Regions from separate parts of the Homo sapiens genome. Here regions 1, 2, 4, 5, 6 and 7 are each linked to region 3. The links are contacts of gene promoters, found by promoter capture Hi-C in blood cells and fetal thymus (Javierre and others, 2016). All regions are on one chromosome and are shown on one strand. Each heading gives the region's core, a stretch centred on a gene start or on the middle of the fragment in contact. The rest is flanking DNA. Distances are from core to core; before and after follow the strand shown.

The links. Contacts are between HindIII fragments. The CHiCAGO score rates a contact against its expected background, and 5 or more counts as called.
Region 1: a fragment that was not itself captured here is called in contact with the fragment with the promoter of RBM26 in region 3 in 2 of 17 cell types (total B cells and naive CD4 T cells); the score reaches 5.6 in total B cells.
Region 2: a contact is called between a fragment that was not itself captured here and the fragment with the promoter of RBM26 in region 3, in 3 of 17 cell types (naive CD4 T cells, total CD4 T cells and naive CD8 T cells). The highest score is 7.0, in naive CD4 T cells.
Region 4: a fragment that was not itself captured here is called in contact with the fragment with the promoter of RBM26 in region 3 in 4 of 17 cell types (non-activated CD4 T cells, total CD4 T cells, naive CD8 T cells and 1 more); the score reaches 9.9 in non-activated CD4 T cells.
Region 5: a contact is called between a fragment that was not itself captured here and the fragment with the promoter of RBM26 in region 3, in 1 of 17 cell types (total CD4 T cells). The highest score is 7.4, in total CD4 T cells.
Region 6: a contact is called between a fragment that was not itself captured here and the fragment with the promoter of RBM26 in region 3, in 1 of 17 cell types (erythroblasts). The highest score is 5.3, in erythroblasts.
Region 7: a fragment that was not itself captured here is called in contact with the fragment with the promoter of RBM26 in region 3 in 1 of 17 cell types (naive CD8 T cells); the score reaches 6.6 in naive CD8 T cells.

What each region holds. Positions count from the first base shown.
Region 1 is chr13:78,119,878-78,123,593 of GRCh38, forward strand. The region is part of intron 1 of OBI1-AS1 (OBI1 antisense RNA 1); the gene reads left to right. Among named protein-coding and RNA genes, the nearest start is that of OBI1-AS1, 67 kb to the left of the region's middle. The HindIII fragment of the contact is 165 bases long and covers 1,611-1,775 here.
Region 2 is chr13:77,739,322-77,742,759 of GRCh38, forward strand. All of the region lies in intron 2 of SLAIN1 (SLAIN motif family member 1), which reads left to right. Among named protein-coding and RNA genes, the nearest start is that of MIR3665, 43 kb to the left of the region's middle. The HindIII fragment of the contact is 1,116 bases long and covers 1,631-2,746 here.
Region 3 is chr13:79,404,519-79,407,898 of GRCh38, forward strand. It overlaps RBM26 (RNA binding motif protein 26), which reads right to left and starts at 1,737. Exons shown (of 22, transcript NM_001366735.2): 1 at 1,186-1,737. The coding sequence starts at 1,256. RBM26-AS1 (RBM26 antisense RNA 1) reads left to right here and starts at 1,791. Exons shown (of 7, transcript NR_038991.1): 1 at 1,791-1,959. RefSeq lists a silencer at 1,293-1,492 and enhancers at 1,402-2,393, 1,723-2,022. The HindIII fragment of the contact is 7,810 bases long and covers 1-3,250 here.
Region 4 is chr13:77,703,380-77,706,931 of GRCh38, forward strand. All of the region lies in intron 1 of SLAIN1 (SLAIN motif family member 1), which reads left to right. Among named protein-coding and RNA genes, the nearest start is that of MIR3665, 7.0 kb to the left of the region's middle. The HindIII fragment of the contact is 6,755 bases long and covers 1-3,552 here.
Region 5 is chr13:77,678,459-77,682,022 of GRCh38, forward strand. No RefSeq gene overlaps it. Among named protein-coding and RNA genes, the nearest start is that of SLAIN1, 17 kb to the right of the region's middle. The HindIII fragment of the contact is 552 bases long and covers 1,957-2,508 here.
Region 6 is chr13:77,769,969-77,773,409 of GRCh38, forward strand. No RefSeq gene overlaps it. Among named protein-coding and RNA genes, the nearest start is that of EDNRB-AS1, 47 kb to the right of the region's middle. The HindIII fragment of the contact is 344 bases long and covers 1,772-2,115 here.
Region 7 is chr13:77,721,280-77,724,604 of GRCh38, forward strand. The region is part of intron 2 of SLAIN1 (SLAIN motif family member 1); the gene reads left to right. Among named protein-coding and RNA genes, the nearest start is that of MIR3665, 25 kb to the left of the region's middle. RefSeq lists an enhancer at 2,880-3,009. The HindIII fragment of the contact is 6,197 bases long and covers 1-3,325 here.

The DNA.
Region 1 (3,716 bases), core at 443-2,942, 1.3 Mb before region 3:
GACTTTATTCCTAGTAGCAAATATTTAAAGCAACACTTTTTAAAGAAAGTAGAAACTGGTATGATGGTGTGTGCTTGCAGTGCCGGCTACTCAGGAGCCTGATGAGGGAGGGTCACTTGAGCACAGGATTTTGAGTCTACCCTGGGTAACACAGTGATACCTCATCTCTTAAACAAACAGAAAAACAAAAAACGAAAGTAAGAAAGTTGTGGAAAATTGCAATTTAAAATTATAATTTCTTAGTAAACATATTAGAGACTGAAGTTATTTTGATAATATTTTTTTCCAAAATCATACATGATAGATGTGTCAGTCAGTTTCACACTGCTATAAAGAACTTCCTGAGACTGGGTAATTTAAAAAGAAAAGAAGTTTAATTGACTCACAGTTCCACATGGCTAGGGAGGCCTCAGGAAATTCACAATCATGGCAGAAGAGGAAGCAGGCACATCTTACATGGCAACAGGCAAGAGAGAGCCTGTGAAGGAGGAACTGTCAAACACTTATAAAACCATCAGATCTTGTCAGAACTCACTCACTATCGTGAGAACAACATAGGGGAAACCATCCCCATGGTTCAATCACCTCCCACCAGGTCCCTCCCTTGACATGTGGGGATTATGGGGATTACAATATGAGATGAGATTTGGGTGGGGACACAGAGCCAAACCATAGCAATAGGATATGGAGTTATATAGTAGACTTAATTTTTTAAAGTAAGTTTTTAAAATTCTGAATAATGCAGTGTAACTTTTTGTAACTCTAGCATAAAGATACCTCTGTATGTATTTATGCAACAAATTAGATAATCTCATAATTCACTGAGCGTAAAAGATGAACAATATGCCACATTCTAGATCGTCTATATAGCCACGGCTATATAGACAAAAGCAGATAGAAGGTTTAGAAAAACGTTTGGATCAAAATGCCAAAGACTTAACTAAGTACCATATTATATGAGAATCAAAGGAAGAGATAGTTTTGTGATCTGAATTATTTGGATTGATTGCACAAAGTGACAACCAGAAAAAAAGAACAGAAAAACAATAAAATTATTCTTAGATGAAAATTTTATTAGCTTCTCTTTCCTCTACTCTAGTGTAATATTTTCTTCATTTTACACACACTTTAAAATTCATCTAAGAAGAAAATATAAGATTTACATATAATTCAGATACTTTTTCTTATGAGCTAGAGAGGCCAAAGAAACAAACCAACAAACCAAAAAACAATCCCTTCCATTAAACCCCTGAGTAAAAGTCAGGAAGTTGATCATATGCGATGATGTGACACCTCTTAATCACGGAGAAAGGACATTGATGAATAATCAGCAGGATAGCAAAGGTGTAGTGCAGTCACTGATAGGACATCAGCAGTTACTCCTGGGAAAGTGTAAGAAATTTTAAGGAACAGCAGAAAAGAATGAAGGACTCAGCTCCCTAACAGAATCAGAGAATTCATAGGCTCAGATAAAGGTGACTCGTTTCTGTATTTCTATGTCAGAAATATACAGGAGCTCATCCCCCCAAAAGTGAAGCAGTCTATAGTCACAAATTTTATTTTGGAAAAATGAAACAAAACCAGAGAAAAACTTAGAGCATCTTTACACAAGCTTTTTTTTTTCAAGTGCTTTTTGTTATTCTAATGGATCCTATATTCAAAACATTCCAAGATAATCAGTGTCTCTCTGCAGGAAACCCTGCTGATTTTAGGGAAATGATTAATAATCGGTCACTTTCTCTGCCCCTTTCAGCTTCTCTTAAGTTTAGTGAGGAAGCTTAAAGAATTCTTACACCTCCCCCTGCTGGCAGCAAACAAGAAGTGCAGGTTTGGTACGTAAAACACGTTCACACTGAAAATAATGGCTAAGATCAACTTTTGATTCTAAAAACAAGATTCTTTCCATCTGTAATCCGTGAAAAAGTTTGAAACATGAATTTAAAACATGAAAAGTAATAATAAAGTTTTGGGAAGTACTGCTTTTCAGAAGTCAAACAATGAGTATTATGTTAAAATATTTAATTCAACAGCATTCCTTCAAAAATTTATATTTCTGAAATCTGACTCCAGAAATGACTTTGTTGTGACCTTTACGTCTTTTCAACTGTGTCTCTACTTGCTGCCATTCTCTCTATAGATCCCATTATTATCCGTCGCGGAGACAGGAGGTTCGTCAATCACTTAATCTGCTCCCCTGCACTTTCCAACTCCCTTGCTGTTCTTGCTTCTGGGCGGTACTGATGGGTCACTTACGGGTCCACACACGGAGGACCCAGCCCATGATCCCCATCTGCCTCTGCTGCGGCAGGTACTGCAGATGTTCCAGAGAGTGGAGTGTCCATCAACCTAGATGCTTGAGAGCCTATGTTGAGCAGGGGCCTCTGTGTGTTCCTCCCCTCATTGACCTACAGCTGAATTTGAGTGAGAACTACCTGTTAGGTGTTAAGCAATTGAGAGTTCATTTGTCCTGAAAATAACAACGTAGCTGATGACTTTAGAATGTAAACCAAAACATATCTGATACAAGTCTAAATCAATTTACAAAGTTTATTTTGCCAAGGTTAAGGAGGCACACCCCTGACACAGTTTCAGAAGGTCCTCACAACATGTGCCCAAGGGGTTCAGGGCACGGCTTGCTTTCATACATTTTAGGGAGACGTGAGACATCAATCTATATGTCTAAGATGTACGTTGGTTTGGTCTGGAAAGACAGGGCAACTCGAAGTGGGGCAGGGGCTTCCAGGTCATAGGTAAATAACAGACAAATGGTTACATTCTTGTAAGTTTCTGATTAGCCTGTCACTGAATATACGATTTACAGGAATAGTCACTTATGCCTTAGTCTGGCTTAGTGAAACAATAGGGCAAAGGAAGCAATCAGATATGCATTTGTCTCACGTGAGCAGAAAGATGACTGAGTTCTGTCTGTCCTTTATCCACAAGGAGTTTCTTTGCAGACAAAGTGGGAGAGAGGTATTTATCTTTTTAATCTTTGTAGCTGTTTTATTTAGGAGTAGAATGGGAGGCAGATTTGTCTGCAGTACTTAGCTTGACTTTTCCCTTTGTTAGTGATATGGGGGTTGCAAGATTTATTTTCCTTTCACAGGTATATTTGCACCTTTCACAAGAACATTAAGAACAATCCTGAGCATTCTTCATGTCTCGTTTGATCCTTACCACTGCCCTCTGCAGTACTTTATATAGATGTTATTAGCCACATTTTGTATGTGACAAAACTCTGGCAAAGGTAGATTAGATGCATTGTTCCAGGTCACACGGGCAAGAAGTGATGGAACCAGGAATCAACTCAGATTCCAAATTTCCTCAATTTTTATTTCGACTTTACATTGTCTCATAAAACAAAATTCACAATTATGTAAGATTAATTACATCAAGTTGAACATCATCACTTTGTTTAAAAAGTTATAGGGGCAAATACATTTAACACACAAAAAATTATTAAGTCTACTTTGTTGAAAGCACTACTGTAAGCATTGCAAGATATACAAACAAGTATGAGATGTAGTCCTTATCTTCACAGAAATTACACTCATGCTTGGAAGCCCAGTCAAAGAAACATGGAAAGCTCAAGAGCAATATAGAAAACTTTACAAATAGTCCCTGACTAGTTGTCAAGTTAGCTTTTCACACATTAGGTGATCAGTAAATGTTTGCTGGGGAGAAGGCAGAGGACAGATCACGAAAGAAGGGTGGAG
Region 2 (3,438 bases), core at 939-3,438, 1.7 Mb before region 3:
TTGAGATAAGGAAATATTAGTCAACTTGCCAAAATTTTGACCACATTTAGCATTTATTGAGTGCATACTGTGTTCCAAGTCTTATATTAGGTACTGAAATGACTGTAGTGAGAAGAATGAAAAGGATTGTTGCCAGAATATGTTATAGTGTTGCTTTATTTTTGAACTCTTTAGTTTAATGCACTACCGACCTTTTGAGTCTTCTAAGATATTAAATCAGTTTTTTCTTTTATGTGAATTAAGTAATTGCTTTCTTAAATTTGATTTTGATTATGTGTAGAGACATGTCTATTTAACAACAATTTGAATACTTTGAGTCTAAGCAAAGATGATCAAGCAATGGTAGGAATGTCATTGTTTCTGGGAACTTTTTGTTGGTCACAGAATAATTTTCAGTGTGACAAATTAAAGAAACTTAGGTTGTTCCTTAAACCCATTCTGTCGTCTGCCTTTTTATGATTTTCTTGATTTTATCACGGGAGCATTTATCGAATCTAGTTTTTTTGGTCATACTTTGCTTAATGGTATACAAAAATAACTACACAGATGTGTTATAACTTATCTTTTCAGTCAAGCAACTTTGAAAATGTACAAAAAATAAGAGACCGTTAGTCACCCTCAACTTATATTTTTGAAAAAAAATGAGGTATCAGTCTACAATTTAGTACTTTATCACATTCATTCAGTAGAAGATGATTGTCAGACAAGGGAGGTGAAGTATAAAGTTTAACCAATAAGGGTGCATCCTTAGGGTAGCTTCAGAGACACTGTAGAGGTGGGCATGAGATAAATGACAGTCTGTAAGGGTGGTAGTGAAATGAGCTGAAGTACCTTTAAGGTCTTGCATTTGATGAAAAGCCCCTGCGGTACTTTAATTGATGAGAGTAACACAGTTAAAATACATGACATTCAGAACAGGTTTGCTCAGGGCAGTGTTGGTGGCTGGAAGTTTGTTGAAGAGCAGGTTGCAGTAATCTGGTGAGAGGTGGTGAGTGGTTAAGGAAGTTGCGGTAGAACTACAGAGATTATGCAGAAAGAAGTGTCCTGGGAGGCAGTTTAGCTTAAGGCATTTGGGAAAGAAAACTGTGCCAAGTATCGTACATTGATTCAGTGTGTAGTCCTGTTTGGGGCCAGTTCGATGCTATTCTAGGGATTGGAATAAAATGAAAAAATGCATAGTCTATGCCACTTCCAAGTTTGCGAACCGCCCCCCCCCCCTTTTTTTATAAATAGAACTCTGGAGTAGGAGTATAGGGAAATTTAACTGTTGTTCAAAAATGGATCACCCATTTTTTCTCTTTTGGCAAAATTGCCTCACTCCTTTCTTTAGAGCTATTTCGGTCATCACTGAGCCTCTTGAATCATTTCACATCATTTTATATACCAAAAATCCACTGAGATAATTGGTTGAAAAAGATAAAATTGCTCTTTTTTACAAGTTCTTTTTGTTTGTTTTATTCTTTATAAAAGTGCTTCCTGTTACAATTCTTTAGCTATGTACTGAAGAACAACTAGGATGTGATAGCTTCCACTCCTGTCCTCCTCCTCCTCCACTGTAACCTTGGGCACTAGTGGAGCATTATTGTTTTGTTAGCCTGCCTTTACAATAATTTTCCTCCCCTTTCTGAAAAGCTTCAATGCTAAACAACAATGTAGAGCATTCTTTCTTGCAATAGACGCTAATTGTGTTCCTAGTTGGGATCTTGCTGTCATAGCCACAATAACTGTGTCAATTGTGCAGGGAGGCTGGGTCACAGTGGTTATTGTGCAGAGTGATGAATGCTGCTTACTTGTGATGTGCTGCCGCCCGCATCTGTGGGTGAGAACACGCAGTTACTGTAATTTGCCTGGCAAGTGATCAGACTGGTATAAAATAACATCATCTGTTAGGCAAGATAGCAGTCACAAAGAACTATTGGTCTTTTAAAATATAGAATTTTTAATGAGAAACTTTGAATAATAGAGATTGAACATGTGAGAACAGCTACCTAGTGTGTGTTGCATTATTAACCCCTAGTTTGTAGTGTATTCTGGAGTCAAGTTGACCTACATAGAAGAGAAGGAACTGGAAGTGCATGTCTGTGTTCTGGCTCCGATTGGGAAAAGCTGCTTAACCACTGTAAGTTACGGGTTGGATAAGTGACATATACGACTGGTGTCAATTGGCAACCAGGCTTCACAGTTTCATGAAATGTGTGGATTCTGAAAGTGTTGTCATTGCGAATGTGGTTTCCTTGCCTAGTTCTTCCACATACTTAAGGAAAAGATATTTTTAATGTAATTGTTAGAATGTGTTGGTACGTAATGATTCTGAAGTAAAAGGAATTTTTTTTTTTTTTTTTTTAAGTAAACTTGGTGTTTTGCAAGGATCTGAAGAATCCCAGTTTGGAGCTGATTATTTTCTTGACTGTCCACATCCCACAGTTTTTTTTTTTTCTCTCCATCCCACTGCCCATTTTAAAGCACTTTTCAGCTGTCTGATTGCTCATTAGCATTGCTCATTAAAAGTGGTCTGGGGGCATGCATTTCAAAGCAGTCCTTTTAATACTTGGTTTTTCAAGTTTTGTCAAATTCCCAGTGAATACAAACCAAGTTATTTCTTGAAGTTTAGCCTTGTTTATATTTTTTATATTATTCCTTCTGCTTAGTACATGTCTAAATGATTACTTTTCAGAAAAGTGAATTTTGCTTAGCGCATTGATTTGTATCTCATGAGAGGAGAGTAAATCATGTTTGGTGTGACTTAAGCTTTTATGATTTGGGATTTGTGTGTGTGTGTGTGTGTGACCCCAAGAACATGGAGATACAAGGGGTGGTAATTTTGGAGGGGAGAAGTACATTAATTAGACAAGTGAGGTAATGTAAGAATGAGATCATCTGCCCATGGCTGGTGTAATTCCTTTTTGTTCATTATATTAATTTAAAAAATAATATTAAAGTAATAACATGTATATTCCTACCTTGAAAAGCTAGTTATATAAATAATATGTATGTTTAATGCAGATAATTTGGAAGTTTTTTTTAAAGAAAAAATCCGAGTGATCACCAATAGTCTCTGTACCGGATAGTCATTGTTAAGCTCTGGTATAGACACCCCTCTGTTACTCTGTACACTGTTTTTCCTTTAAACCTTGTTTTGGTCTCAAGGCCATTTGGAAACACAATAGTCATTCTAAGTCCTCCCATAATCCAATACTGAATTTACATAAAATGTTTTTTATCAACATTTTCTGATATTAACTGAGTAGAAAAAATATAGAATTACATATAGTTAATATTAAGAACATTTCCCTTAATTCCTAAAGATTAGGAAGATTATAAACTTGAGTTTTTCTTTTGACACTAATCCTTTTTTATATTGCAAAACACTAAATCCTTATGTGGAAATAGAAAATTGAAAACATTTCTAACGTAGAAACTCAAAATAAATTTTCATTA
Region 3 (3,380 bases), core at 487-2,986:
GCCCCTACCTACTTGTCCAACTTGTTGCCTTTATATCCTCTCCCTCATCACAAGGCTCTTTCCAGCCACAGTGGCCTTTCTCTTCCTGAAACACACCACAATCACTTCTGCTACAGGGCCTTTCATTTGCTCTTCCTTTTGCAAGGAATGTTCTTTTCCAAGACTTTGACACACATGGTCCCTTCTCTTTAGATGTTACTCCAATGTCACCTTCTCTGAGAGTCCTTCCTTGACCAATGTGAAATAGCCCCCCTCATAATCACTTTTACATGATTCTCTATTATTACAATAGTCACAACTCTATTAATATCTGGATTTATTTATGTCTTGTCGATTTTAGAATTTAAAAGCTCTATCCCCAAAGCCTCCCGTAGTATACAGTAGGTACCTAATAACTTTATTAAATACGTGAATTTTCCCCATTGCATTATTGTAAATCAACCAATTCTGATTAAGCACTTTGGTCCATGTCATATTTTGTATTAACAAGTCGTCAAAACACTCCTTAAATTTTCCAATCTAAGACTATTTCAGCACTCTAACCGCAGCCCCCAACACAAAATCTATCTATAGCATCCCACTTAAAACTGCTAAATATTCCATATGGATGAAGATTCAATTTTCTTCCTCCTCTCCAAGCTAACGAACGCGTAGGCGGGAAAGGGGAATTTTACTGGCCACCTCAGCACCTGTTACATCTTCAATCAGTGAAGAGAGGTGCAGATGAGCCAGACAGCACATGGGAGACGTGGCCTTGCTTTCAGGAATTATATTTAGGTGAAACGTGAGTGATTTAAGCTAGAACTGCCCGAATCCCCAATAAAGGCCGTCTACTTCATTTAGAAAAACAAGGTAAAATAATCTGTAGGAAGTAAAATACAGTCGGTTTCACTAAAATAAACCGATTTTGAGGCCCCCGGAAAATATTGCGGGTGGGGGTTGGAGACGGTCTATATATAACGGGAAAACGAGAGCAGCTCAGCAATAAAATAAAGCTCGACTCAGGCTCTCGGGGGTATCCTGAATCTGGAAGCGAGGTGGACGAGGAGGAGAAGCCACAGAACCCTGGGACCTCCGTTCACCGCTTCGGCCTCCACCGCAGGCACTTGGGGAAACTGCACAGATCTCTGGGTCCGCCTATCTCCCACTGCCATCCCTGCAAAGAGATATCCCCCGGATACTCACATGGGCTCGAGAGTCTTGCTGAGCCAGGACTTGAGTGCCTCGAAGTTTTCAATGATCATTTTAGAAACCATCCACAGCGGCCCTAAGGCCCGTCACACTCCTCCGCCCGCCCAGGTCGCGGCCGCTACAGCCGCCGCTGCCCCCGCCCCCTCCTCCGCGCGCCGCCCGCGTGGGCCGCGGTGGGAGGCGCCGGTGGCAGGTTCCCGCGGGCCCCGGTCGGCGAACAGCTCTGCAAGGACCGCCGCAGGCCACAAGTGCACGGGGTGCCAGGAGCTCCCCGTCCCCGGCCCCCAGCCCGGGCTGAAACAGCAACGGTTTGCCCGGGCCCTCCCCCTTCCCTCTTCCCCAGCAAATCTACCCAGACCGGAAGCGCGACACGCGCTTAGACCCGAGCCTTCTCTCAGCCTCGGGACCAGGTGCTTGTTGGCTACGTCGAAAAGGCAAAAGTAAAGAAAGCGAAGGCGAAGGGCAGCTCAATGGGAACGATTCAGGGGGTCTTCCCGGCTCCCAGCACCCCCAAGAAGATGGCTGCCGGTAAATCTCGCGAGAATTGATGAAGTCTCGCGGTGGCTCCCGGAGCCTGCTGGGAGAGACGTAAGGTCGGCGGAGAATGCGCGGGTCGAGTGCTGTAGTTCGATTTTTGCGTGTGTGCGTTGCTTGCGGCCTTTGTGCCTTTTTATTCTTTGCTTACCTTTATGATATAAAGACCTTATTTCTTACAAGGAGGAAAAGACCGCTGACTTCAGAAACAGCGGGAACCCCAGCTCGTCCCCGGTAAGACGGCCGTGGCCTGTCAGCTGGAACGGTCCTGCCGGATGGATCGCTCTTTGAGAGCGTACACTCCCGCGTGCGCGACACCAGGCGGCCCGTAGGTTCCAGGTGCCGAGCACACTACCTCCTCAGTTTACCTAAGTGCCCTACCAGTATCATATTCTGTGTATGCTGTGATGTGAACGAGGTTTGTAAACACAGGCTGGTCTAATGGAGCCCAATGAGACCGCCAGAGGATTAGTGTCTTGTCCAACAGTACTTGACTTGCTGGTAGAGCCCTAATGACTGAGGGCTGCCCACAAGGGAAAGGTGAGAGAACCTTCACGTCTCTCAGGTAGTTTCCAGCCTGCACTTTCCCCCAGCTAAAGATAAGTTTTGTTATTTTTAAAATTCTCTTTATTTAGAGCAAATTCAGCCCTATCTCAGATCGGGAAATTATATAGTATCAAAAGAGAGAGTCTTCATATTAGCAACCCAAATAAATAAACTATTTTCCTGGGTGATCAAATAAGTTTGATTCCTGCTTGAGTTCTATTTAGATACTAGGTGGAATTTTACAAAGGGTCTACGTTCCATGAACTGTAATGGAATGAAAATATTCACAATCTAAAGACATTTTCAGTAAGTAGATCAATAAAAGCTCTTTATGAGAGACACCGATAGGCTAAATTGTTCTTAGGAACTCTTGAGTTTATAATTTGCTAGAGTGAAGTGTCTTTAAGGATTAGGTGGAAAGATTATGAACTACAAAGCAAGACATTTGTTTTAAAATACAGCATATAGAGTAGAATACAAATTAGAATCCAGCTACTGAATAACCAGGGTGTTGATTAAAGTGATTTAGCTGAGTGAAATAAACCAGACATGAAAGGACAAATATTATGATTCCACTTACATTAAGTACCTAGAGTAGTCAAAACTCCTAGAGACAGAAGGTGGAATGGTAGCAAGAGCAGGGGTGGAGAGGGTGCCCAGGAGAAGGGGAAATGAGGAGTTATATTTCAGTGGATAATAGAGTTTCAGTTTAGGATGATTTAGATTCTGGAGATGAGTGGTGTTGTGTGGGTTGCACAATATGAATGTACTTAATGCAGTGGACCATATACTTAATGAAAACGGTAGGTTTTATATGTATTTTACAATAAAAATTGTTTATAAATTTAATACTGCCGAAAGTTAAAATTATATTTGTTTAGTCTGTTTGTTGTAGCCTTGCCACAGGCTGACGCCACCAATATTTTCAACCTTATCACCAGCTACTCCATTACTCTGGCTCTCCACTTCAGCCTTCCAAAGCTTCTATCAAATACTGTATACCCCAGATAAACTGATTTGCTCACCCTCCCTTTCTCCAAACATTTGTTCACTTTATTTTCCACAGAGAACGCTTCTACTTCTTTCCCTGACTGCTCAAACTTTGCCCA
Region 4 (3,552 bases), core at 322-2,821, 1.7 Mb before region 3:
AATTAGACCACCTAAACTGTTTTTTGCATAATTGATTTTCAGTGAAAAGACCAGAGGGTGCTTCCCTTTTTGACAGTGCTAATTGAAAATGTACAATGTTTTCTAGGAGCAAATGGAGTTGACTGAAGTGTATGACGTGTGTTTGAAATAAGTAACTTTTAAATGTTGAAGTGAGGTGCTGAAGTAGTTTACCTGCAACTGGGCGAGGCAGGGTTGGGGGTGGAGGGAAAGTTTGTTATAGGACAGCTTAGTAAGTAACGCTTGAACTTCATGTATCCTTTTAAGAGCCTGTTGGAACTAAGTATTGTAGTGGCTATCTAGTTTGATCCTAGCAGGTGCCAGTGACTCAAACACTGTTACAGAGAACTAAAGATTCGTTGATCGTGCTTATTAGTGTTGATGTTTCAGCTTTCCTTAAAATAAAACTTGCAGAGATTGAAGGCTCTTAAAATTATTTGTCTGAAAATTACCACATATTACTTTTCAGTGGCAGGTCTAAAAAAAAAAAATTATATATATATATATACACACACACATATATATTTTTATATGTGTATATATACACATATAAAATATATATACATATGTTTTATATGTATATATATACATAGAAAATATATATACATGTTTTATATGTATATATATACATAGAAAATATATATACATGTTTTATATGTATATATATACATAGAAAATATATATACATATGTTTTATATGTATATATATACATAGAAAATATATATACATATGTTTTATATGTATATATATACATAGAAAATATATATACATATGTTTTATATGTATATATATACATAGAAAATATATATACATATGTTTTATATGTATATATACATAGAAAATATATGTACATATGTTTTATATGTATATATATAGAAAATATATACATAGGTTTTATATGTATATATACATAGAAACTGTATATACAGAGGTTTTATATGTATATATACATAGAAACTGTATATACAGAGGTTTTATATGTATATATACATAGAAACTGTATATACAGAGGTTTTATATGTATATATACATAGAAACTGTATATACAGAGGTTTTATATGTATATATACATAGAAACTGTATATACAGAGGTTTTATATGTATATATACATAGAAACTGTATATACAGAGGTTTTATATGTATATATACATAGAAACTGTATATACAGAGGTTTTATATGTATATATACATAGAAACTGTATATACAGAGGTTTTATATGTATATATACATAGAAACTGTATATACAGAGGTTTTATATGTATATATACATAGAAACTGTATATACAGAGGTTTTATATGTATATATACATAGAAACTGTATATACAGAGGTTTTATATGTATATATACATAGAAACTGTATATACAGAGGTTTTATATGTATATATACATAGAAACTGTATATACAGAGGTTTTATATGTATATATACATAGAAACTGTATATACAGAGGTTTTATATGTATATATACATAGAAACTGTATATACAGAGGTTTTATATGTATATATACATAGAAACTGTATATACAGAGGTTTTATATGTATATATACATAGAAACTGTATATACAGAGGTTTTATATGTATATATACATAGAAACTGTATATACAGAGGTTTTATATGTATATATACATAGAAACTGTATATACAGAGGTTTTATATGTATATATACACACATAAAATATATACTTGTGTGTATACATATGTGACTGTACCATTTGTTTTTTGTATTATCTGCAAAAAGATGACTTTAGAACCAAATATTTTGAGAATAACTGAGACTTTGTTTTCCAGACAGTTGTCATACTTCATTGGAAACATTCAGGGTTATCATGGGCTTTATATTATTTTTGTTCTCCCAGCATAGAATGTGATGTGTATGGAAAAGAAGGGGTTCTATGAGAAGGATAGTAGTTTCTGGTGTGTGTGGTTTGGAAGCAATTTAAGAAAAGTTAAAGAAAATTAGAGTGACATTCCAAATAGTAGTTTGAAATGTATATTTCAAATATAATTTGAAGAATTCTGAAAATTTAGATTAAGACTTTTCAGATGCTCTTGCCAGAATCCAATATACCATTAATGAAACTACTGAAGTTGAAAAAAATGTTTATAAGTCACTAGAATGTATGATGTACTAATGATGGCCAGATAGGACATTGTAAATGTTACTTGCATTCTAATGACATTGAATAAAGTGATTTTTAAAATGACTTTTTGGAGGGTTAGAGCTATATAGGAGAAATACAGATTTTTTTTTTTTTTTAAAAACCTTGCCTATCTAATTTTGGAGCTGTGTTGTACTCAAGGAGTTTTTAGCCACATGATCTCTATAACTAGTTTTTTGTATTATCTGCAAAAAGATGACTTTAGAACCAAATATTTTGAGAATAACTGAGACTTTTTTTTTCTAGACAATTGTCATACTTCATTGGAAACATTCAGGGTTATTGTGGGCTTTTTCTTTCTTTAAATCCAGCTCTAGGCCAAGTCATAGAAACACTAGGCTCAAAGCTATCCTGCTCACTGTCAGGAGACTGACTCTGAAAATGATCACTTCTGTCTTAATGCCATACATTTGTATAGCACCTCAACAGTTTTATCAAAATAATATAATAACATGTTAGTAGTTTTCAAAACTCCCCTTGTTAGGCTTATTACAGGAAGCAGTCCTCTACTCCCTCCTCCTGCTGAGTCCTTCACATAGGCATCACTTTATACTCTACTAGCTGTTTCTTTTTCCTAAACAGTCTTTATACTTTTATGATCTTAGACATCTATGGACTTATTATGAAAGAAGAAAACTTAGCTCTCTTCCTCTCACCCTTGACTACCATATCTCTTTTCCCTTCTCATAATGGTTTTTATGGTTTTTCTTTTATATTTAATGTCTGCATTATGATTATAATTTACTAGCTAAGTCCTGTTAATTGCATGTTAAACATGTATTTTCTCTGACCCCTTTGTTCCTCCAAGAGTTAGTAATGGCACTTCTTCTCTCCTCTTCACTTTCTTTAATTACCTATCAGAAATTATTTCCCCAAACACGCTAAAGGAGCCATAAAATCCCTCATTAAGGTCATACACATTTGGCAGTCTGTTAAATCTGCTTTTTTAAAATTTATATTGTAGTGCTATCCCCTCTGAAACTCTTAATCTCATTGCTCTAGTTTTTACTGTTTGCCCCCTAAGCTGGATGCATACTGCTGTTGCCATGGGAACTCTTTCAGTTTCTTGGCAATGTGGATTCCCTTCTTCTTAAATCCTTTTCGTTTGTATTTTTTTTATTCTCTTAGGTGGGGCACAGCCTTCAATAGCTTTCTGAGAAAGGAGACCTGCAGGAGAGGCACACTTTGAGATCCTGCGTATTTGAAAATGTCATTGTTCTGCCCTTACATAAGATTCATAGTTGGACTGGCTATAAAAGTCTAAGTTAACCTTTCCCTCATGTTTGAAGGCACTGTTCCATTTTGTTCTAGCTTCTGTTATGTTCTAGCTGTTGAGTGCACTGTGTTTGGATATCTAATCCTTTTTGACT
Region 5 (3,564 bases), core at 983-3,482, 1.7 Mb before region 3:
AGAATGGAGAAAAAGGCAGAAGCAACAAGAAATGAGATAAAAACTGAGAATTTTCAGAGTTGATGAAAGACATCAGCAGTCAGAAAATACACTCCGGTGTTTTGTTTTTGTTTTTGTTTTTCCAAGATGGTAGATTAGAGGCTTTTGTAGCATGTCTCACTCACTTGGAAGAAGCAAAATAGTGTGTAGAGAGTCATACTGTGAAATTTCATTCAAGAAGAAACATGAGAATTCAACAGAAAAGCGAAAGACAATTTCAGATACTGGGAAAGAGAAAGTGGGCAGGCAGCCTGCATGGTGGGGTCTGGCTAAAAACTGTGAGTGAATCCCCAGTACAGGAAAGGGTGAGTGAGTGTTTCTTTGTGATTCATCTCTCCACTGGAGAACTGCGCAACCCTAGCCATGGGAGAGGACCTTGACTCTCCTAAGCTCTAGAGCTAACATGGGAAGCAGCCTGGAAACTGTGAGAAGAAACGGCCCTGGAATGCCTCCAAAGCATCTTCTCAGGCCTGGGTGCTGACAGGACAGTGCCATTCTTGATGCTAGCTCACAGCAAGCCATGCAGAATCCTGGAATTTAGCAGCAGTGGCAGCTGTTGGCATAAGAGTTTCAGTCTGGATATTGGAGTACTGGGTTTCAAGCAGAGGAGGGGCCCCACAGCCAGAACTGAGAGATGAGTGGAGTGTGGGCTCCAGCCATGGGCACTGGAATTGGGCACCCCCTTTTCGTGGGACGAGAGCAGAGGGAGATTTGCCTGAGAGGCATGGTTTTGGCTCAGATGATGAGTATTATAGCTTTGGATGGCCTTGAGGACTGAAAGCAGACTGCATGTGACTAAATGTTCCAACTGGCTCCATTGGTAGGGAAAGGAGAGTGAGCCCGATTGGGTCTGGAGAGTGAGCCCAATTGGGTCTAGAGAGTGAGGGAGAGACCTGTCTCATTCCTGTTTATCTGACCTTGGTGGCAGCGTCACTCTCTGCTCCTGTTCCTGGGACTTTGGTGCAGCAGTGGTTGCTCTGCTCCTTGCCCAGGCATTTCTCCAGCAGCATAGTGACTGCCTCTGGATCCCCCCAGCAGGGCTAGTGCCTGCAACCACTACTGGGGGACCTGAGTGCAGGCTTGCCAAGATCAGCTCCATCCAGTATCAAACTCCCCACCATGGCTGAGCACAGGACCCAGAACACTGAGTGTTCCATGCCCAGCCCATTGCCTGGGACACCCAAGTACTTCTGGTTAACAAAAATCAAGCATAAACCATATCGCTACCACTTCAGCTGCTCTTACCTGCAAATACCCACTACCTACTGGCTTGGAGGTTGACCTGCACAGCCCATCACAGCATGTGCTGACACAAATGCACAGCACTTGAGAAGGAGATAAGCTTCTTGTGACCGCTGCTATCACCATTGCCCATGCCACCCTGGCTACTCAAGAGTCGATGAGGCTGCTCACCTGTCCAGTACTCCACTACTACAACCAACATTTGATAAACCACCACACTGATATGGCTATTTATAATCAAGGAAATAATACAGGATCTTCACCATTGAATACACCCAGAAGCAATGCCAAATGGCTCTACTCAACATATATCATAATCACATCCTCAAGGAAAAAAGGTCCCACCCCAATGAAAGTAATTTCAAAAATAAGCAACTGTTTAGATGAAAATAAATAATCATATTAAGAAGTAAGGTATTATGACAACACAGTAATTCTCCAGAAATAAATCCTAACCAAAAAGAAATCCTAAAAAATGCCAGATAAAGAATTCAAAATAGTGATTTTAAAGAAGCTCAGTGAGATGCAAGAGAAATCTGAAAACCATTACAAAGAAATCAGAAAATCAATTCAAAATATGAACAAGAAATTTACCAAAGGGATAGATATCTTAAAAAACAAACAAAACTCCTGGAAAAGAAAAATTCGTTGAAGTAATTACAAAATACTTCTAAAAGCTTCGACAGTAGACTAGACCAGGCAGGAGAAAGAGACACAGAACTTGAAGACAGGTCTTTTGAATTAATCCAGTCAAAGAAAAATAAATAAAACAGTATTTAAAAGAATAAAAAAAAAACCTTCAAAAAGTATGGGACTACATAAAGTGACAAAACTTACAATCCTTTGGTATTCCTGAGGGATTAAAAAAAAGCAAAAAGTTTAGAAAAACTACTTAAGGAAACAATTGATGAAAACTTCCCTAGTCTAGCATGAGATTTAAACATCCAGGTATAGGATGCCCAAAGATCACAAGCAAAACACATCGCAGAATAGACTTTGCCAGGACATATAGGAATCAGACTGTCTAAGTCAATATGAAGAAAAAAATCCTAAAATTGCGAGTGTCTAGTTACCTACAAAGGAAACCCATCAAACTACAGCAGATTTCTCATTAGAAACCTTCCATACCAGAAGAGAATGGTATGCTGTTTTCAAAGTGCTAAAAGAAAAAAGAAAAAAAAACAAAAACAAAACTATCAGTCATGAATTTTATATCCAGCTAAAAGAAGCTTCATAAATGAAGGGGAAATAAGGTCATTCCCAGATAAGCAAACACTGAGAGAATTCATAACCACTAGAGTGGACCTACAGGAAATGCTAAAGGAGTCCAATATATTGAAACAAAAAGGTGATATTTGCCATTATAAAAATACACGAAAGTAAACACTCTCAGGTCTTATACAACAATTACAAATCACAGGAGGAAGATAGGGGAATCAAATGGCACTATGACAGAACTCCACCAAACCACTGAGCAAACAGAGAAAAAAAAATAGAATTTACCAGATAACTAGATAACAATGAACAATATGACAGGAATAAAACCTTATCTATCAATATTAACATTGAATGCAAATGGATTAAGTGCTCCACTTAAAAGATATATATTGGCAGAATGAATTTAAAAACATGATCTAACTATATACCACTTACAAGAAACTCATCTTATTGGTTAAAAATATAGATACATTGAAAGTAGAGGGGTGGAAAAATATATTCAACACATATGGAAACCAAAACTGAGCAGGAGTAGCTATACTTATACAGATAAAACAGATTTCAATTCAAAACAGTAAAAAACAAACAAACAAAAAAGAAAGGCATTATAAAATTATAAAGGATATATTCAATAAGAGAATAAAATAATCCTAAATATGTATGCTTCAAACACCATAGCACCCAGATTCATAAAACAAATATTACTAGACCTAAAGAATAAGGTGCAATAATAGTGGGGGACTTCAATACCTTACTGACAGCACTAGACAGATCATTGAGACAGAAAATCAACAAAGAAACACTCTACTTAAATTAGACTTTTGACCAAATTGACCTAATAGATATATACAGAACGTTTTCCCCAACAATTGTAGAATATACATTCTTCTCATTGGCACATGGAACATTCTCAAAGACAGACCATATATTAAGCCACAAAAGTCTCCATAAATTGAAAAAAATTAAAATCATATCAAGTATCTTCCCAAACGACAGCAGAATAAAACTAGAAATCAATACCAAGAGGAACTCTGGAAACTATACGAATACATGAAAATTAAACAA
Region 6 (3,441 bases), core at 694-3,193, 1.6 Mb before region 3:
TGGGTCTGGCATCTGGCTATGGCTTAGCTGGGTTCTCTGGCTTAGTGTTTCTTACAAGGATGCAGTCATCTCGAGCATGCTTGTGGAAGAACCTGCTTCAAGTTCACTTTTGTGGTTGTTGGAAAAACCCATTTCCTTGTGTGCTGTCAACAGAAGCTGCTCTCATAGTCTCTTGTTGTGTGGACCTCTCCTTGCGCAGGTCAAAAAGTAGCATCTTGCTTCATCAGAATGATCCAACAAGATGGAAATTAAGGCCTTTTAAACGTAATCTTGAAAGTGAGGTCTCATCACTTTTGCCCTACTCTGTTCATCAGAAGCCAGCCAGTAGGTCCAGCCCTTATTCATGGGGAGAGAATGACACAAAAATGTGAATGCTGGAGGTGAGGATGATTGGGACCATCTTAATTATAGAAGCTGCCTGTAAAACATTGCCATTAACTTTACCAGATAATCCCAACCAATTTCCAAAATAACTGTATAATATTACGTTTTTGCCAGCAGTGTATGAGAATTCCAGTATATCCTTGCTATACATCCTTGATATTGTTAGTCTTTAACTTTTTAATCTGTGGGTGTATAGCAATGTCTCCTTGTGGTTTTAATTTGCATTTCCCTGGTTGCCAGTAAGACCAATACCTTTTCCTTTTCATTCATTTATTAGATGGATTCCTGTTCAGATCTTTTGCTTATTTTTCTTTTGGGGTTTTTTGCTAATTGCAGTAGTTCTTCATATATTCTGCTATAGTCCTTTTTTCAGTTATATGTGTTATAAAAATATCTTCCCCCTATGTAGCATGACTTTTAATTCCCTTAATAGAGTGTTTTGATAAATAGAATTATTTTAATATAGTACAATTTGCCATTTTTTAAGGTTACTCTTTTGTGTCTTGTTTAAGGAGTATTTCCTTACCCTAGGATCGTGATACATTCTCCTTTCTTCTAGAAGTTTTGTTATTTTACTTTTCTCCTATAAATTTATAATCTACCTGGATTTGATCTTTATATATTGTACAAGGTAGGGTTACAATTATATTTTATATTTTCCATGTGCATATCTAATTGTCCTAGTAACACTGAAAACTTCATCCTTACCCCCACTGCTTTTTGTCATAGCTTTATATTTGTCTGTTTTGGAATTGTCTATTTTTGCACCAGAGCCATGTTGTTTTAATCACTGTAGCCTTATATAAGATTTTCTAAATAGCAGAGCAATCCTGCTCCCTTGTTTTCTCTTAAGAGTGTTTTGACTATTCTTGTCTCTTTGCATTTCCATATATATTTTTAAGCAAGTGGGTCAAGTTCAAGAAAAATATCCTATTGGAATTTTGATTGGGATTGCATTCAGTTTGAGGGAAATTGAATCTTTACAATTTCAAGTCTTATAATTCGTGAATATGATCTACCTCTTACTGATTCAAGTATTCTTAAATCTCTTATTAAAATTGTATAGGTTTTCTATGGAGAAATCTTGCCGGAATAATTTCTAAGTATTTGATTTTTCATGCTGTTGTAAATGATATTTTAAAAAATTTTATCTCTAGTGGTTTCTTTTTAATGTTTTATTCAACAACCTTAAATTTATGTTGGTTTATATTAACTTATCTTTAGAATACATAGAAACTGTATCTGTACATACAGTCAAACATATGGATATTAGATTATTTCTTCCTTTCCTATTTGTATATTTTTTTCTTTCTTGCCTATGGTTTTTGATGCAATATTAAATATATAATAATAGGTATCTTTCTCTCTTTGCTATTTTCAGAAAAAAAGCTTTCTATTTTACCCTTAGTTTTAAATTTGCTAATAGTATTATTTTATTGTGAAAGAATGTGAATTTTAACAGATTTTTTCTGCATCTATAAAATATGATCCTATTAATAATCTATTATTAATAGATTAAAATGATTATCTCATTTAATCTGGTAATATGCTGACTTTAACATAGATTTTTTGAATGTTGAATCAACTTTGAATTATTGAGATAAACCCAGTTTAGTCATGATTGTGTTTTTCTTTTAAAGACAGATGTATTTGACTTTCTAATGCTTAGGATTTTCGTCCAATTTTATGAATAAAATTGGTCCATAATTTTTTAAAAAACTGTCTCTATTAAGCTTTGGAATGATGATAGCATTAATCTCACAGAGTGAGTTGGGGATATTTTGTCTTTTTCTATCTGGAAGAATTTGTGTAATATTGGAATTATTTTTCCCTTAAATATGTGATAAATCTCTAGTGAAGCCTTCAGGAATTAGAGTTCAGATCAAGTCATGTTTTACAATCTGATGTTGTTTATACTTACTCTATTTCCAAGAGTTGTGATAAAACCTCCCTCTATAATGGTGAGTGTAAATGTTCCCCCTTACAGTTCTATCAAATTTGCTTTATGTTTTTTGACATACACCATGTAACTTTGGTGTATACATATTTAACAAGTTTTATCTTCCTAGCAAAGTAGACCTGTTATCAATGGAACTATTCTTTATCTTTTTTTAATGTCTTGAAACCTACTTTTCTGATATCAAGGCTATGTTAAATTTTAAACACATCAGATTTCTTTTAGTGCTTATATAATGTATATTTTTAAACCTTTTACTTTCAAACTTTTAGAAGTCTTATGTTAAGCATCATATAGTTTGTTGATTTTTTTAAAAATCTAGTATGAACATTGTTGACTCAACTTCAGCATTTAAACCATTAGTATTTAAAATAATCACTGATATATTTAGATTTCAATCTATCACCTTTTTATGAGCTTTCTGTTTGTTGTGTCTGTTCCTTTGGTTTCCATTTTAGTCTTACTTTAGTTTGCTTTATCATTCTGTTTTAATTTCCTACTAGTTTGAAAATTATAGCCTAATTGTCTTTTGCTATTCTTTTAGTGGTCACCCAAGAAATTACAATTTGCATCTGCATTAATCTTTGTCTTTACCATTCTTCTAGGGAGTATAAGGACCCTTAGTGTTATACCTAATCTATGTATGTGCAATTGAAGTGTCAGCCTGGGACTGGGGAGAAGAAATCATATACAGACTTTTAGGCTCTCTGAAATTCAGAGAAAACAGTCATATAAACAATGCAGCACTGTGTCGACAAAAGATAGAAAAAGATACACAGAGTGGTTTTAGGACAGAGGGAATGATCAACTTTGATGGGATCGGAAGGTTTTCCAGGTAGCTTAAGTGTTATTATTTTATTTTAAACTAGGCTCTGAGTTTATCCATTCAACAAATATTATTGAGGGTCTACTATTTGTTAGGTTTTGTGCTAGATGCAGAGGATGTAATAGCCAATTAGTCAGGCATGATTCCTATCATCGTGGAAATTACATTCCTGATTCTAGTGAGAAAGGTTCAAATCAAATAAGCAAAATACTATTTCTTTTCTGCAAAGGAAAAAGTAGGAGCTGAGATATAGAATGGTAGGGAATGAGAGGAA
Region 7 (3,325 bases), core at 392-2,891, 1.7 Mb before region 3:
CCACTATGATTGCAAGTTTTCTGAGGCCTCCCCAGCCATGGGGAACTGTGAATCAATTAAGCCTCCTTTCTTTATAAATTACCCAGTCTCAGGTAGTATCTTTGTAGCAGTGTGAGAACAGACTAATACACAAACCATTAAATCCCTTTGGATTAACTCTTTGAAGGGTTATATAGACCATTCCTAAGCCTCCTTACTTAATCCTTGACTCAGTGACTTATATCTACATTTTAACATACAAATTTGGCTCAATAATTTGAAGTAAAATTCAAATTGAATTCAGAATTAGTCCTTTATCTCAGGGGTCAACAAACTTTTTTTTGAAAGGAGATAGATAGTCAATATTTTAGATTTTGTGGGCTACATAATCTCTGTCATGACTGTTCAACTTAGCCATGCCCAGAAAACAATGATCAATGCAGAAATTAATGAATGAGGATGCATTCCAATATAACTTTATTTACAAGCCCTGACATTTGAATTTTGTGTGGTTTTTCACGTGTCACAAAATGTATATATTTTTCCCAATTATTAAAAAAATATGAAAACATTTCTTAGCTGGTGAATTATTACAAAAGCAGGAGTGGGCTGGATTTGGGGTACTCTCGGCCACAGTTTACCCACCCCGGCATTAAGTCATTTGCACACTAGATAGATTTACATACATATAAGCATTATGTCATTTGCACACTAGATACATTTACATATAAGGTTAGGTTTTTTTTTCTTTTCTAAAAAGTAATCCTAATTGGTGGTTGCTATTGAGATATTAGACTAAGTGCTTCATTATCCGATTTTCCTTTCATTGATGTGGAGCTCAGGCAGAATCGTGAGGTCATGAGGATAGGAACTGGCATACTGCAGTTTTGTTCATGATGTAATTTATTTAAACTTCCTGTAAAAGTTTAGAGAACGAGTTTTTCAAAACCAAAATTAGTCTTTTACTTAATTTGTATATAAACTCAAAACTTCTTTTGCTGTGACACTAAATGTTTTTATTCCAGAGATCCATAATCCATAATCCTGTTGAGATAAGAAGTAACCAATTAGGTTGTTTACTGGAGAAAATTCTTTTTTAAAAAATTCAACTTATATTTTATAAAATATAGTTTAAAAAATAGTCTTACAACTGTTATAAGACAAATATCAAATTGCTGCCCCAATCTCTCATGCCCTTTTTATTTCCCAGATATACTTAAGAAAAGCTATTTGTTTTGGTTTTACTGTTTACCTCTCTTTTTAAATTCCATGTTTATATGGCCATTGCTTTGAATTTTTTCATTTTAAACATTATCCATTGGCTTTTGACTTTGGATGGTGAAGATTTAATTCTTTTACACCTCACTTCTATATTTTTTCTCTGCATGTCCTTTCTATGTAACCTTTTACTACCTTTAGGGGACATCAGTATATATTATGATAGAAAGTTATATTCAAGCCATGCAATATTTTATCATTTCTTTTTCCATCTAACTTTTTTGTTTTTGAGACAGATTCTTGCTCTGTGCCCAGGCTGGAGTGCAGTGGTGTAATCTCAGCACACTGCAACATCTGCCTCCTGGGTTCAAGGGATTCTCTGGCCTCAGCCTCCTGAGTAGCTGGGATTACAGGTACACGCAACCACGCCTGGCTAATTTTTGTATTTTTTAATAGAGATGTGGTTTCACCATGTTGGCCAGGCTGGTCTTGAATGCCTGATCTCAGGTAGTCCACCTACCTTGGCCTCCCAAAGTGCTGAGATTACAGGCGTGAGCCACTGTGCCCAGCCCATCTAACATTTTTTTTCAGAATTAATTGGAAAAAGACACCTAGTTTTGTTGTTGTTGTTGCTGTTATAATTTATAAGACAGGGTCCTTGTCATTAATTTATCCCCAAACTCTCTTGATGAACCATCCGCAGTATGAGACACATAAATCCAAGAATTTTGTTTTGTTACTGTTCCTTCAGGCAGCGCCCTATTCTCTTACTCTACTTGGAACTAGTCATCTTTAGCCTCTGAAGAGCCATCATGGTGGGACTTTCTTTTGCTTATCCTGGGAATTTCTCTGGCCCCTCTTCAGTGCTATATTACCTGCTTCTGAGATACAAGTACTTTCCTTTCTATTCCATTAAAAGAAACGAATATTTCTGCATTTGCTTTTTTGGGAGAGTAGAGGGAAAAAGGATATGTGGCAGGTAAATTTTGAGAACCTCCTGTGTTTCAAAACATCTTTATTCCTACTTTCACTCTTATGCAGGATTGTTATTTGGGTTAGGTATAGAATTCTAGGTTAAAAACCATTTCCCACAGAGTTTAGAAGGCATTATTCCATTATATTTTAGCTTCGGGGTTGCTGTTGAAGTTCAGCACCGTTCTTATTTCTGATTCTTATTTGTGACCTTTCTACCTAAAATAACATGAATATTTTAGAATATTGTCTTTTATTCTTGGTATTCTGAAATTTCATTTATTTTGTGTGTGCTATAAACTTTAGTTCTGCAAAATTTCTTGCATTATTTCTTTGTATTCGTAGCCCTCCGCCCTTGTTTTCTCTATTCTTTCTAGATACTTCTGTGGGTCAGAATCGCCTAGATTGATGTTCAAATTTTATATTTTTCTCTCTGGCTTTCTATTCTTGATTTTGTTGCTGTTGTTCTACTTTTTTGGAGATTAAAAAAAAAAAAAAACACATCTTCTAAACTCTACTGCTGCATATTGAGTGACTTCTATGTACCAGGTACCATTGTAGGTGATGGAGATGCATCAGTGAACAGCACAGGTATTAAGTCTCTGCCCTCATTGAGCTCACCTTCTGGTATTCAGATTTTCACTTAGTCCTCCAGATCTGTAAGGTATTTTTATTTGTGTTTGTAAAATCTAGTGGCTTTCTATTTCAGTTTATTCAGGTAATGAAGCCTGTCTTTGATCAAAGTAGGAGAGGAGCAGTTGCCTGAGCAGGCGGGGTGGGGAGCTGGAGGGTTTAGGTGCTTTCCTATAGATTTTCAGTCACCTGGTTTTTTTCACTTCACCACAAAACTCCCTACCCTCTGTGGTACTTCGCACCTACGATTCCAGAACCTTGCTAGGTCCTTATTAGTTTCTTTTTGCTGTAAGGCCATAGAACAGAGGATGTCAAAACCCAAGTCTCTTCCGCTTTTCATTTCTAAGATGTTGTGACCATCCCGAGTGTGATAATTGTCTCCTGTCCCGTTCAGTCTTCCTATGGCTTTATAAGAGTTTGAGTTTAACTCTTACTGTAGTGTGGTTTTATAAGAGAATAGGGAGGAATTCATAGTTAATCCCCCATATTGAAGAATACTTACTGGCTTCCAATTAAGGGGGTC